Linked DNA regions of Homo sapiens: region 2 is linked to region 1. Evidence: promoter capture Hi-C in 16 types of primary human blood cells and fetal thymus (Javierre and others, 2016). All regions are on one chromosome and are shown on one strand. Each heading gives the region's core, a stretch centred on a gene start or on the middle of the fragment in contact. The rest is flanking DNA. Distances are from core to core; before and after follow the strand shown. Region 1 holds the start of MYCT1 (MYC target 1). Region 2 holds the start of VIP (vasoactive intestinal peptide).

The links. The method cuts DNA at HindIII sites, captures the fragments that hold promoters and counts their contacts. A CHiCAGO score of 5 or more calls a contact.
Region 2: a contact is called between the fragment with the promoter of VIP here and the fragment with the promoter of MYCT1 in region 1, in 1 of 17 cell types (neutrophils). The highest score is 5.8, in neutrophils.

The regions. Positions count from the first base shown.
Region 1 is chr6:152,695,056-152,702,405 of GRCh38, forward strand. MYCT1 (MYC target 1) reads left to right here and starts at 2,842. Exons shown (of 2, transcript NM_025107.3): 1 at 2,842-3,043. The coding sequence starts at 2,848. The HindIII fragment of the contact is 10,649 bases long and covers 1,790-7,350 here.
Region 2 is chr6:152,748,260-152,755,380 of GRCh38, forward strand. VIP (vasoactive intestinal peptide) reads left to right here and starts at 2,538. Exons shown (of 7, transcript NM_003381.4): 1 at 2,538-2,700; 2 at 3,909-4,025; 3 at 5,907-6,029; 4 at 7,010-7,114. The coding sequence starts at 3,919. LINC02840 (long intergenic non-protein coding RNA 2840) reads right to left here. Exons shown (of 5, transcript NR_183508.1): 5 at 6,617-7,121. The HindIII fragment of the contact is 3,260 bases long and covers 1-3,227 here.

The DNA of each region.
Region 1 (7,350 bases), core at 1,592-4,091:
CCTCCCCGCCAAGGTGATGGTAGGAAGAGGTGGGAACTTTGGGAGTGATTTGGGTTATCCAACCCTCATGAATGGGATTAGTGTCCTTATAAAAGAGGCTGAAAGTGACCCTTCACTCCTTGCACAGTGTGGGATCACAACGAGAAGATGACTGTCAACGAGACAGCGAGCCCTCAACAGACACTGACCTGCCAACCCCTTGATCTTAAACTTCCCAGCCTCTAGAATTGAGAAATAAATTTCTGTTGTTTTAAAGCCACCCAGTTTAGGATATTTTGTTATAGCAGCTGGAACAGACTAAGACACATATATAGCATAATGTCAGGGTATGATAAATAACATAGGGTCAGGAGACAGAGCATGGTTTAAGTGGGAACACTTTAGACAGGGTGGTTAGCGAGTGCCTGTTGAAGAGTGACTTCTGGCCAGAGACGTGAATGAGGAGAGTGAGGAAGTCATGTGAATATCTGAGGCAAGAACAAACTTCTCAATGTACTTTATGACCACTGGAGAACCCAGACCTAAAGACCCAGGTTATGAAATAATGAGCAGTAGAAAAGCAAACCTAACAGTTTTGTAAAGATAAAAATCAAGTTCCTGTTGTGGCATGACAAGTCATGGGACTCAAAAATCACGTAGACATAAACATTCACTTAGATAGATCCATGCCAGGGAAAGGTATGAACCCTTACCAAGCAAATTACATACACAGACAAGAGCCAGTGCTGTCCACAAGCAAGCTATTCCTAGGTCATAAACTGATTTAAGAAACACATTTTCTTTAGAGTTTTGACTGGGTTGTGGCCATCTGCAAAAATGAAAACCCATTGGGAGAAAATCTGCATAGTTCAACATAGAACAATGAAAGGAAGTGTCAGCCTGTATCCCAGCCCTGAAATGGAATGAGCTCTGTTTCTGCACAGAAGGCAGTTGAGACAATGTCAGTTACCCATTCCACTCATTTTGGTTTATTTTAAGGAAAATGCAATCTATGCAGTGTTTAGGAAATTATATACACCTTTGAAATTAGGATTTATTGCAATCAGGTAACCTTTAATAATGCAAAATGTGTATTTAAAAATACATTTAGTAATTAAGAATCGTACTCGATGCTTTTAGAACAGTAAAGTGATTAGTATTTCAATATACTTTCATCCAGATTACATTTTCTTCAGAAATAACATGTTCTTTTAATTTTCTATTTTTATGAACTTTGTTAACAATATTGAAAAGTAAAGACAACTGTTGAAATGTAAGCCCTTTTTGTCTGTTAAGTAATAGTAGGAGCTTTTATTTACTGGATTATTTGAAAATAAACTTTAGCAAGAATATTATAGAGGTGAGTCTTTATATTTGCTCAGTGAATTCTCTAAATTTTCTATGACGTTTTATAATTCTCTTAGATGATTTATATTTTAATTTCTAATAAATTTATACTTAAATTCACAAAAAAATGAGACTGATCAGAAACAACCTCATTTTGGAAGAAGCAGGACTGCAAAAATTAATATAACTGTCTTTTTTTGTTGTTTTCTTAGAACTACTCAGGAATATATTACAGACTTCACAAAGAGGAATACTACTTTGCACTAAGTCATATTCTAATGACTAATAAGTTAGAATATGATTAATACAAGATATATGCAAGAGTTCAGGCTAGAGTTACTCAAAGATTGATGAAGCCAGATCATGGAATGCAGTTTAGCGCAGTTACTAGGTGCAGTTTGACACGTTATTCACAATTTCCAGTGCCTCCAAAGTCCTCAGAGGATCCAGTCTAAACAAGCAAAGCTTGAGGAAAGACTCTTGAAATGTTAACTAACTTGTGTTTCTCAAAATGTTTCATGTAACTCTTTCCTATATCAGTTCTCAAACTTCTCTATAAAAAACAAATTCCTGAGATCGTTGTACCCTTTGTTATAGCACTTAACAAACTTTGTAATGAAAAATTTTGCATTTATGTTTTCCCTCCTTGATTTTAAATATATTTCTTCAATGTAGAAACTGTTTTTTCATACTAAATACTAAGTAAAGAGTAACACAAATTTTATATAAATTACACTTAGATATTTATGAAATGAATTAAATAACTTTCAAAATTTGTATACCAAATAGAGAAACAGACATGTTAAGAATATAGTGGCCGAGCGCAGTGGCGCATGGCTGTAATCCCAGCACTTTGGGAGGCCAAAGCAGGTGGATCACTTGAGGTCAGGCCTAGTTCATGACCAGCCTGGCCAACATGGTGGAACTCCATCTCTAGTAAAAATACAAAAATTAGCCGGGTGTGGTGGCACGCGCCTGTAATCCCAGCTACTCTGGAGGCTGAGGCAGGAGAATCGCTTGAACCTGGGAGGGGCAGGTTGCAGTGAGCCGAGATCGTACCACTGCACTCCAGCCTGGGCGACAGAGCGAGACTAAGTCTCAAAAACAACAACAACAACAACAACAAAGAATTTAGTAAGTATCTGAGTTTTGAATAGTCCTTTCCCCCAATTTACTATATAAATTTAATTTTCAAGCATTGGAACGTGGTCTATTTCTCAATTCTGTATACATTTAATTCAAGGTGCTGTAGCTGAGAGTTTGGAGTCTTCCTTTCCATGTCAGTAGGGGATGAGGAAACACACACACACACACACACAAACACACACACACACACACAACCCTGTTATCCTAAAAGCAGTTTTGGAGGTGGCTGAGAGGAGAGAACTTAGGAACTTAGCTGAGGAAATGATGAAAAGGACATTGTTTTGTGTCTCAGGAACCATGTGGAATTCCAAGATAAGAAAAACAGTTGCTAATTTGAGTATAAAAGCAGGAAACATGATACACTTATTTCCTTTTATGCGAACACAAGTATATGAGGGGTTGTGTAAAAATTATTTTTCTCTTGCTGTACTACAAAGAGATAGAATCAAACTGCTTTTTTTCGACATACTGGTTTTTCTTTCTGTTTTTCTTCTCTTTCTTCTATTTCTTGTGGATATTATGGCTAATAACACAACAAGTTTAGGGAGTCCATGGCCAGAAAACTTTTGGGGTAAGGTATTTTCTTTTACTGTTTAAAATTTAAAATTAGGATGTAAGAAATGCACTGCGTGATTATTAAAACAGTGAAAATCTCTGAGACATTTTGTTTACTATAATGTGATTACTTAAAGTTTTCATGTTTATTAACAGAAATCTATTTCATACGTTTATTAGCAGAAATATATTTATAGATATAAATATATACTTATATATTTATTTGTCTTTATAGTGTTCTATGAAGATATTCAAGAAGAATCTGGGTATTAAGTACAGATTTTGGCTGGTGTTACAAAATATAATTAGGAAATAGTGAGGATAAAAATAAAAAACATAAGGTGGAGGTAATTCCTGCTTAGAATATGGCATGTAGATTTTGTTGGAAAAATTAACTTTCATTTGTTTGAAGGTTATAGATTATATATTTTATTTTATGAAACTGAGATTTTCCATAGAGGCTATTTTCACTTATGTTGTGAATGTTATATGCTTTAATTTCCAAAGTGAATCCTAATAACATCTGTACTTAAATGAGTGAATTTAAAGTGCAATAACACAGGTAAAATAAATGAATGACTTTAGAGTATAACAAATAAAACATGGAATAATATGAAATTTGAGAAAACTATAGTAGAAAAGATTAAGTGGAAATAACATCACGTGTAACATTCAATGGAATCCTATCACAGGGGTTGGGGGGAAAGAACAATACAAAAGTATTTTTTGGAGAATTTTTTGTCTGAGTCCAGCCACAGCTAACAGTCCAGTGTTCCCTGATGTTGACAATGGGACTGTGCTGAGGTCAAAACTCAGTTGCTCCAGGTTAGAGGTACAAAGAAGATGGGCTCACATGGGGAGTTGACATGTACTCTTGGGTTCAGGGAAATTTTTATATTAAAGGAGGCAATTTAAATTAAATTCAGAAAAACACTTTAATGAAGAAAATAGTATATATGGACAGATCTGTTTATATGGCCAGAACAAGTTTTTAATCCTCTCAGTGTACAATTCAGACTTTCTGCTGTGATTCAAGGTGGGGTTTTGGGAACTTTCACATAAACAGTGAGCAGTAGTGGCCGACTTTTCCCAGCAATCTATATGTCTACCATCACAGAAATTTGCATGAAAAGAATTCACTCCAGTCCTTTAACCTATGTACTTTCTTAGATGAAAAATGTGGGGACAAATATTTATTGGTTTTAAAAGATATTAAAATTCAGCATAAGAAAAAAAAGAATTAACTCATTCTTTTTTTCTCACCTACATTTATGTTTGCTGGAAGACTGAAAAGGAAGGATATTGGTGAGCTCCTAATAAATTTATGTAACAGAATTAAGAAGAAGAAAAAAGATTATTCTAGTACATTGTAAAGAAAGGCTTTGGTAATAGGTTATTTTAGGTAGCTAGCACTAGACAGAAGCCTTTGAATTGTAGATGTCTGATTATATGCTTGTTAAAATATTATTTGCTGTCCTCACTTATAGAGAAAATAAGTGCTAAATGCACACTGAAAAAGAGCTAGAGTCTGTCTAAATCAAATTCATCATTATAAAAGTGTTCTGTATAAATTATTCAAAAGTAAAGTAGTTTTTGCAAAAATTAATATGTAGAAGTCAATCTATTTTTTTCAAACCATTCAAAATTAAATTTCAGGTTTACTTAAAAAAACAAATCATTATTCACTGACTAAAAGATTAAAATAAACTTGATATTAATAAGAGAATGTTTAGTTGGAGTTCACCTATTGATTCTAAAAATTTAGATATTTTTAATATGGAAATCTGTGCTTAAGAGGGAATTAAAACCTGTTATTTCAAAGCCAAATACTAGTTTTTCCTTTCTCTTGTTATGTGACTGTAATGAAAATTAGATGAAAATAATGAAAACCAGAAAGGGGAGTGTTACATTGATAAACATTAACAAAGCCAATGGAAACATGGAGAGCAGATATAATGTTTGATGATTTTAGGAAAATATATAAAAGATTGTATTATTGCCTCTGGGGTAAAAATATGAAGTATAAAATGTGAATAAAAATATAAACATATAAAATGTATACATTTCCTGAAATATAAATGTCAATCTTTTAAATTTCCATTGCTTTTGTGTATCTAAATTGATGTCTATTTTGACCACTGACTCCTCAAAAATATTATTTTGAGAATCTTGTACAATGCAGTGTAATGCATTGTTATTGCTTCCAAAATCAGTCATCTGCTTGGCACATTGAATTTGGAAAATAAAGAAAAACAGCTTAGAAAAGGAAAACTTGTACATTGAACCATATAAATTGCTCAGACGTAGCACACTTTAAGGTACAGAAAAAGTTGTTTTCCCAATATAACTTTTCTGGTTTACTTTAATGAGCGCTAAATGATGGCATAATAATATCGGGTTATTACCAAAAACAATAGCTTGCATTTTCATAGCTATCACCCACTAAAACTTCCTAAAGGTGTGCAAGCATTTAAGTGCAAGGGTTGGCAACAAAGTTAGCCTGAAAGTGACAACACAGATGCAGACTATCACCTTCCACTCCCTATTTTTGCTTTCTTTAACGCACTTCCTTTCTCTATAAACATTCCCATGAAAGCTGCAGGAAACATGGCCCGTGAAAATTTGCCATGTCCTCCTCTAAGGCAATAGGAGACAAATACTGAACTCAGTTATTCTCTCAGTACTTGAGAGTCCTGTAGAAGACGTAGTTTTGGTTGTTTCTGCTGTCTTGCTTTGCATTTTTTTCCTTATGGCTAGCTTTGTGAAAAGTTGGGGGAAGATGTGGTTGCAGGAGTTTGCATTTATTCACTTAATTCAATTCTCACCAAAAGTACAATGTCTGTCTCAAAAGGATTATGCTCTTGGAGGCAATTATGCGTCTATACATATGCTACATATGCACATACAAACCTATATAGTTGTGGAATAATACAAGATAACATATGATAAAATAGCAATGGTTGATAATATGAGTTAAAACAATATATGGCAGAAATAATCCCTAAATCTTTCTCAGAAAAAAAATGAGGTGCTATCTGTTCCTAGAAAGATAAATTTCAGACAGGGAGATAATTCTAAGAAGGACATTCTAGTCATTCATTTTTTTCCCTCACCAACTCATTCTCATCCAGTTCATTAGTTCACTCAGAAGCGTTCGCTGACCATATTAGGCAATGTGTTAGGAGTCAGTGACACAAATAAGGCATTTCAAGAGGTTTGGGGAGCTCAGGAAAAATGTCACCAGCAAATATGCAGAAGTAAAAACACCCAGGCATGTTTGTGGAGAAAAGAACGTCTTGGCTAGAGATTCTGTGTGTGGTCGTTTCAGGGACATAGTTTGTAAGGCAGGTTGGAGGCAGATTTCTGCAAGATTTGAATGTCAGCGTGAAAGTTTGATCTAATTAAGCCTGATCACTTGCAATCCAGTGATTTATAATCTCTCCATATTCCTCCCTCTGGGAATTTTCTTTAAGGTTGGAGAGGGTGTGTGGATGGGTGGAGGGGTGGAGGGGTTATATATTCTGTGTATTGGAGAGGGGGGACCTTTGTGCTTGATCAAGTTCTGGCCTCTGCTGACATCTACTGACATGTATTTCTCATCAGCTTTTGAGACATTGCCCTTTCTCTGATTTTCACTGCCGAAATCTCCTACTATAAAATCTGGCTCACATGATCTGTGTAATATTAGCTAACAGCATGGCTTTTCCTTTCTGTAAATCCCTCTGGTCTACTGGCCCTTATTCGGGTACTTCTCCATCTGTCTCAATGGCACAGAATAATTTTCAATATTGTCCCGTAACCCTAGAGCTGCAGGAGCCTTCCTTAGGAGGTTGGGCTACATCAGGTGCCCTTGGCCTGGATGCAGTAACACTATGTCCCCTGCTCCCTACCTCACTTCCTTATCTGCCCTTCAGATACCCAAGGGTTCTCAGAGCGGCTTGCCATCTTTCCCAGGAAGCTGGAAATAAGTACCAGTTCCTCTGGGATTCCCTAATCAATCTGTAGCTCATCACAGGGAGGGCTGGAGAGTGATGCTTCCCTTCTCCAAAACCCTTACAGGTCGTATTCTATATAGCTCTTCTCTTTGTCTCCCCAAAGCTCCTCCTCTTTAGATGCATGGAAATTGACTCATAGGCCATGGTTTATTCTTTCCTATACTGTTTATGATAAAAAGTTATGTTCTTAAGTCCTTTAGGCTGTTAGCTTTTAGAAACTGAACCAAACAAAGAAACTCAAAGCACTCTTTTCTATTTCGAAATATCCAACTATTGCAGTAAAAATGTTGGCTTTCAAACAATTATTTATTCTATATGTTTAAAAAAT
Region 2 (7,121 bases), core at 1,288-3,787, 53 kb after region 1:
ACCCTCTATTAGTATTTTGCACTAAAGAAAAAAAGGCAAATTTGGATTTCTGCTAATATCCTGAGCTTGAAAATCCCTTCCATCTAATTTCCTTGCATCCAGTATGTTTGAATTTAGAATGCCAGTTTTATTTCCCTGCTCTTGGTTCTGTTGGTGAAAAAAGGGGAGAGGAGATGCCAATATTTTTATGAGCTGTCAATTTCCATATCTGACCTGCTAGCATCAAAAAGGTGATAGCAACAATTACAGAATATTACCAATTCTAAATTGAAAGAATGCTGACTCAAAATCAGACGGTCTATCTTCCAATCTCGTATTTGTTATTAACCACCTGAGTGGCAAAAATTACTGAAACTTTCTGGAGATCAGTTTACTTATTTGTAAAAGAAGGATCTTGAAGATTTTTCTATCCATGTGAATGAATTATAGTTCCCCTTATTACAAACATCACTTTACTGAGAAGGCCTAAGGCAAAAATAAACTTTGCCAGAAATGTAGGCAAATTATGGAAGAATATGTCAAAGTACGGAAAAGACACATTTAAACAGTAAATTCAAGTTTGTATCTTTGTACTTATTTACTAAGTTTTATGGTAACCGAGAATTCAGGATAAATTTGACTGCAGTACTTTTTCTTATGTTTATTTTTTCTGGAAGCATCCAAAAGTTAAGCTGGCTACAGGACCTCTGGTTTACAATTCATTTCCTTGAAAGAAAAGAAGAAATAAACACAATTCTATAAAGTCTGTGAATTAAAACTTTGAACCTGCAGATGGTGCTATGATTCCATTTTCAAATTGTTTTGCTTTCTAGTTTAAATTCATAAGAGAAAATGCAGTTGTTTGGTTGAGTTTACTTTTATTCAGAGGTAATAAAATTGAATTATTTCTTTTTATTTTATCTTATTATTATTATAATAGAAGCAATTGTCTTTTGTATTGGGAAAAGCTACTATAGTTACTCTTTGTAAATGCTAAGTGCTTGCCTAGGCCAAATAATGATCAGCTTTACATCTTTTATGTTTAAAATTTTTCTTCTTATCATTCAGCAGTCATTTGTCTGTGACCCTCAATTAAGTTGCTTTGCTGTTTCTGCTCTTAAATAAAATTGGTTCACTAAGAATTGGGTGATGAAGAGCTAAGGATAAAAAAATTCCATATGAGAACTGTTTCAACCTCTAGTTTGTAATAATCAGGTAAAAAAGATTTCCTGGAATTAAGCCACAGGAACTCTGGCTTAAGTCAGAGCTGTCAACTGGGAAACAAATTTCCAGACATTTTGAAACTTAATTCATTTAATTTTTCTGGTAACTGGATTAGAAAATATGATTAAGCATAGCAGGATATTCTTTTACTGGATCAGTCTGACTTTGAACGAAGGAAATAGATACTACAATCTTAAAGTAGAAGAAAGAGGACTGTAAAGCCATTCTGTCTTATGAAACTTAGAAACAAAATGTAAAAATAATACACATGGCAGAAAGCCTTTAAAATAAAAGGAAAAATGGCATTTTCCTCTGTTGTTTAGGAAATTTTTCATGTGGCTGCATTTTTACCTTAAACTCTGATTGAATGTGTGCTAGACTACCTTTAGTTACAAATCCACAAATAGAAGTGAAGTATTTATCAAAGTACTATATAAATGCTTTTCAACTATTTGAAGCCACCTGTCAAGTGATTGAATCAGAAATGTTCAAAACTGGTTTGAGTATGTGTGTGTGTTGGGGATGAGGGTAGAAAACTAATTCTACATTATGCAAAGACTTATAAAAGTGATGAGGAAAATCTTTAAAAAGAAAAGACAATTAAATTCCTTGAGGTATATAGCCTGACAACAATTTATTTTTTGGATCATTTGACACAGTGTATGTAAAAGTGCATTGGGAATTGTGCCATTTTATACAAATATGAAATAGCACTACTTGTACTGCTTTGTACAACAGCGTGCATATCTTACTATCTTAGAGACTTTCTGAAACACTTATCTTGGAATTAGTTTCAACAAAGACGAAATGTAATAATAGGAAGGTGAAAATTATCTCTAGAGCTTTTAAAGTTAGGATAGATTTCAAGAAAGATTAAATCTGGAACTATATGAATAGCATAAAAATTAAAAATATTAAGAGAATTGATACTTTGTAATAAAGTATAATTATACTTTTATAAGCGTAATGAACATAAGTGTTTGTTGCTTTATGCATTTGTTTCTACACATGAAGTCTTTATTTTCTGAAGGAATCCCAATGGCCCTGGCTATAACACTACAATCATTTTCTTATTTTACAATTAATTAAAGGTTAAAACATTTCACATTGAGCTTGCTACTTTGTTTGTTTAAAGAAAAGTAAATTTCCTCTTATCTTACATTTTGAAGTTGCTCACTATAAACTTATATAAATTAGGCATAATGACAATTAAGTAAGAACTTCAAGCCCTATTCATCCCATGGCCGTCATACTGTGACGTCTTTCAGAGCACTTTGTGATTGCTCAGTCCTAAGTATAAGCCCTATAAAATGATGGGCTTTGAAATGCTGGTCAGGGTAGAGTGAGAAGCACCAGCAGGCAGTAACAGCCAACCCTTAGCCATTGCTAAGGGCAGAGAACTGGTGGAGCCTTTCTCTTACTCCCAGGACTTCAGCACCTAAGACAGCTCCAAAACAAACCAGAACAGTCAGCTCCGGGGGAGCACGACTGGGCGAGGTAAGTGAAAACTTTACCTTTCCTCTTCTTTTTCCCTCCTGCCTCTGGAACTTTTCTCACAAAATAATGAATTTTTCTCTCTTGAAAAGAATTTGATAGTGCTTTGCTTTTGCAACAGCAAAAAACAAGTTTCTCAAGTCACCTGGTAAGGATAGAAATACTTCAATTTCTCTCATATGGATAGATTTTCTGAATTCTTTTGTTTGTAAGATGCTTTACCCTGCTTGCTCTTTTACTGAATACTGATTTTTACAAATAATTCATTCAAGTAAAGTTTACTTGTATGTAGATTTTTGACTGAAAATTTCAGTGGGAACATTTGCTTTTGAAATTTTCAACTTATTTTTAAAGTGCTTTTTTTTTCCTATTTCGTATGTTGGTTAAGTGAATCTAAGATGCATTTATTTTTTCCTTAAGTTTAAATTCCATAATTTTTATAGGCAGCAAGAGAAACAGACCTTACTCCTAGGCTTTTAATCTAGAAACTAGAAATGAAATGTGTAAGTTGATTAAATGCAAGAAATGCAAGCTTTGCTTTTAATATATATTTTCCTCTTATGGAAAAATTTATTTCAATGACAACATATGATTCAGTAATATTTTGAGTATTAATATTCACTACTGAGTTAAGAAGTTCAAATCCAGGTGTAAGGAAATAAGTTTCCGTAATATCTACAATTGAAAGAGGAAAAAGTAATGTATATACAAAATCTTTTTTAAAATTATATGTATATATACACATTATATTTATACATTTGCACACACACGAGCAGAATAATTATTAAATAGATGATACTCTAGTCTTATATTAGTCAGATACTGAAATTTTAAAGCAGAAGAAAATCAATGTCTTGAAGCTGTTTCCTTCGTCAAAAAATACACTAAGCTTGAGTGGTACATCCCTGTTATGAAAAGATTGTCCCCAGGGTTATTTCCAGCACTATAGAAGTATGGCATTCAATAGATACTGGGGCCAACCATGTGCCCAGACAGCAGGTGAAAAGGATTCTAATTTTTATTCAAGCACCTGTCACTGAGAGAAATACTGATTTTTGAATGTATCATCTTGCAATTTAACTCTTTCTACAAGATGAAAATTACTCTTTACAAACTCTGCAAGAGCCATTGAAAATTACTGCTAGACAATCAGAATTACCTTGCTGGTGACATCTTTGGCTGGAAGAACTGAGGTGATTCTCTCTCTTTAGAGGCACAGAAATGGACACCAGAAATAAGGCCCAGCTCCTTGTGCTCCTGACTCTTCTCAGTGTGCTCTTCTCACAGACTTCGGCATGGCCTCTTTACAGGGCACCTTCTGCTCTCAGGTAAGTTCCCTTTCAATTCAAACATCTGAACATTCCTTCCTCATCTAAATGGGAATTTCCTATACATTTTGTTGGACAACTAAATAGTATAAATTATGTATTATGTATTTAAATTTTTCCTTGATGTGTTGAGTGAGAGGTGTTTGTCAACATCAGGTCATTCTGAGTCCTGGAATTCACTTTCAGGGCATGAGAGACACTGTCAGTTATTAGTTTTATGGGCTGAGTGGATCACATTCCCAAACATGGTGAAAGGAGGCTTTCACTTTCTTTTTATTCAAAACCATCTTTAGATAAATAATAAGCTTTTATCCATTGTTATCTCAAGTCAGTTCAATTTCTGGTGGAAAAAAGCTGTTTAGTTGCCAACCACATTTGAGTTTATTTTCAAGATTAATCAGTAAATAATCATAAGACTAGTAGTTGATTAGTGAAACATGTATAAAATCATGTTGCACAGAAATCTATCTAGGCAGAGTCAATTTGCCAATATTAAATATGGGGTAATTGATCTATTGAGATACACTCCCCCAATAGGAAAATTTTGATATACTTTGTTTGGACCATAAATCCTTAGTTTTATTGTTCTATATGTTATATTATATATTCCAAATCCATAAAGTATAACACAACTCTTATTTAAAACTTTATTAATGTATGCTAAAGAAGTAAACAATAAATGAAAACTATATTAGCTTGAATTTTCCTTTCAGTTTACGGGCACCACTGTATCTCCAAAGGAAAAATAATAATTGGGTTGGTTTCCTTCTTTGCTTATTAGGTCATTCTTGATTTTTTGCTTAAGGTAGACTTATGCTCAACAGAGAGAATAACCTCTTAGCTATTAGTGTTCTCTGTGAAATCTGTTTAAATACAGCTCCTGCGTTGCTTTGATAACTAAACAAAATGGTTCTATCTGAATAGTTCTACCACAGCAGATGAACAATCACAAGAATGTGGACATTTGTGTTGATTGCTAAGCTTCAGACCCACAGAGGACTAGTTGCTAGTGACTCCCAACTCCCAAATCACTGAAAGATACACAAGTGTCCAGGAGCTGACACGCTCCTTGGATGTTTGCCCTAACAGTGAAAATCTGCACACACAAAATTATAAGAGTTGCCGGTGATTGAAATATGCATGCATCCATAAATATAGTCATATTCCATATATGCATTTGACTATTCTTAGTCTTTCAGTGTAACATTGTACATCCCTTATTAAAGTTGTGTTAATACATAAGATTAGAAAAAAGAAGGCCCCATAAAACTTATTGAATTCAAATTCATCTTCATAGATGAGCTATCCATCTATGGAGACATTCTTTGAACTCTGTCAATACAGAGAAATATATAATGCCAAAGTAAATATTTGAAGCAAAGCTTGGGGGTCGAGAGAGAGAGAAGCAGTTAATACTCTGTTCTTCAGAGATGTTTGGAACAGGTAATACTGAACATCACCAAATCCATAAATTGTTATCAGTTCTCATTCAATATTAGTTTTTTGCAAGTTTCTATTTTGCATAAAATATTTCTACATACGAAATTTGACTTTGCAAAGTGAAGATATTCTTGGCATAGTAAATTACACCAAAGAAGTATAGTTTGCTTAATGCTCTGATAAGATTGAATTAAGTAGCTCTTGTGTTTTGTATATTCAGCTTATAAAAGTCATATGGCATCTACTTTATAGGATAATAGGAATTTCCTATTTATACTCTCATTAACTATATGAGCCATTAAGTCAAATTATGCTATTCTCATATTATGACTGGGTAATACTTCCCAAGAGTCTAAGTATCTTATTTTAAATGGTTGCGGAACCATACACACTGTCTTCTGAAAAAAGAATGTATTATTCTCGTGTAACTTTCCCCATCAGGTTGGGTGACAGAATACCCTTTGAGGGAGCAAATGAACCTGATCAAGTTTCATTAAAAGAAGACATTGACATGTTGCAAAATGCATTAGCTGAAAATGACACACCCTATTATGATGTATCCAGGTGAGTTTATTTTTATAAAACTATCCAATGAGTTTTATTTTAGAAAATGTGTTTAAGAACTATAAACGTGCTTATTTTATCTCACCATGAAGCTATTCCGATAGCAAAACACTAGAGGTTTCTATGTGTCATGGCTTCATTCATCCTGATTTACTGCAGATCTTACAGCTGTACATAATTTTCATACTGAAAGGTTGTAACAAGCCAGGATGAACACACCATTCACTTCCATTCTGTTGCACATAATTCCAACATCACAGATTGTACCAATTCTGATAAAAGTACAGCATTTAGCATTCCAATGATGGAAGAGTTGCCAAGGAGTTTTGTCTCTATATAAAGAAAAGATACCTGATAGAGCTGTTCATTCATAGAGCTGTTTGTCTAGAGCATCATTTCAAGTACAGACCAAGTAGCTCTATAGTACTTGGTACAGACAAAGTATAAAAGGTGCTTCATTTGAAAGAGAAAAGGTGGGATGATAGGCCTTAATGCCTTCTCTATCTTAAGAGATTTTGTTTCCAAATATTTTGGAAAAAGAAAAAAAAAGGTGTACTGGGGTTTATGAACTTTCCAAAATCAGAATATTTTCCCATTGTGAATGTCTTTATTCAGTGGGGCAGACACAAAGCACCATGTACAAATAGCAGCTAATTTAAATAGATCATATTTTTACACCAATATTTCTTAGAAAGAAATAGTTATAAAGATTCAACCATGGAGGAATATTGAAATGTGCTCCTAGAAATGCCTGTTTCTTTAATTTTTCAGTGTCTTGGGCTAGAAATATAGGGTATATCTTGATATAAGTGACTAGAAGATCTCTTTTGTTAGGGTGTTAAGAAATCTCCTTTTGAACTTTAGTTTTAATGAGAAGCTTTCATAATAAGCCCATAATTTTTTTGTTATTTAATAAGCCATAATAATATTCTAGAAAGCCATTTACAAAATAATAGCTATTTTTTTCTTCCTTGTTTTAGAAATGCCAGGCATGCTGATGGAGTTTTCACCAGTGACTTCAGTAAACTCTTGGGTCAACTTTCTGCCAAAAAGTACCTTGAGTCTCTTATGGGAAAACGTGTTAGGTAAAGA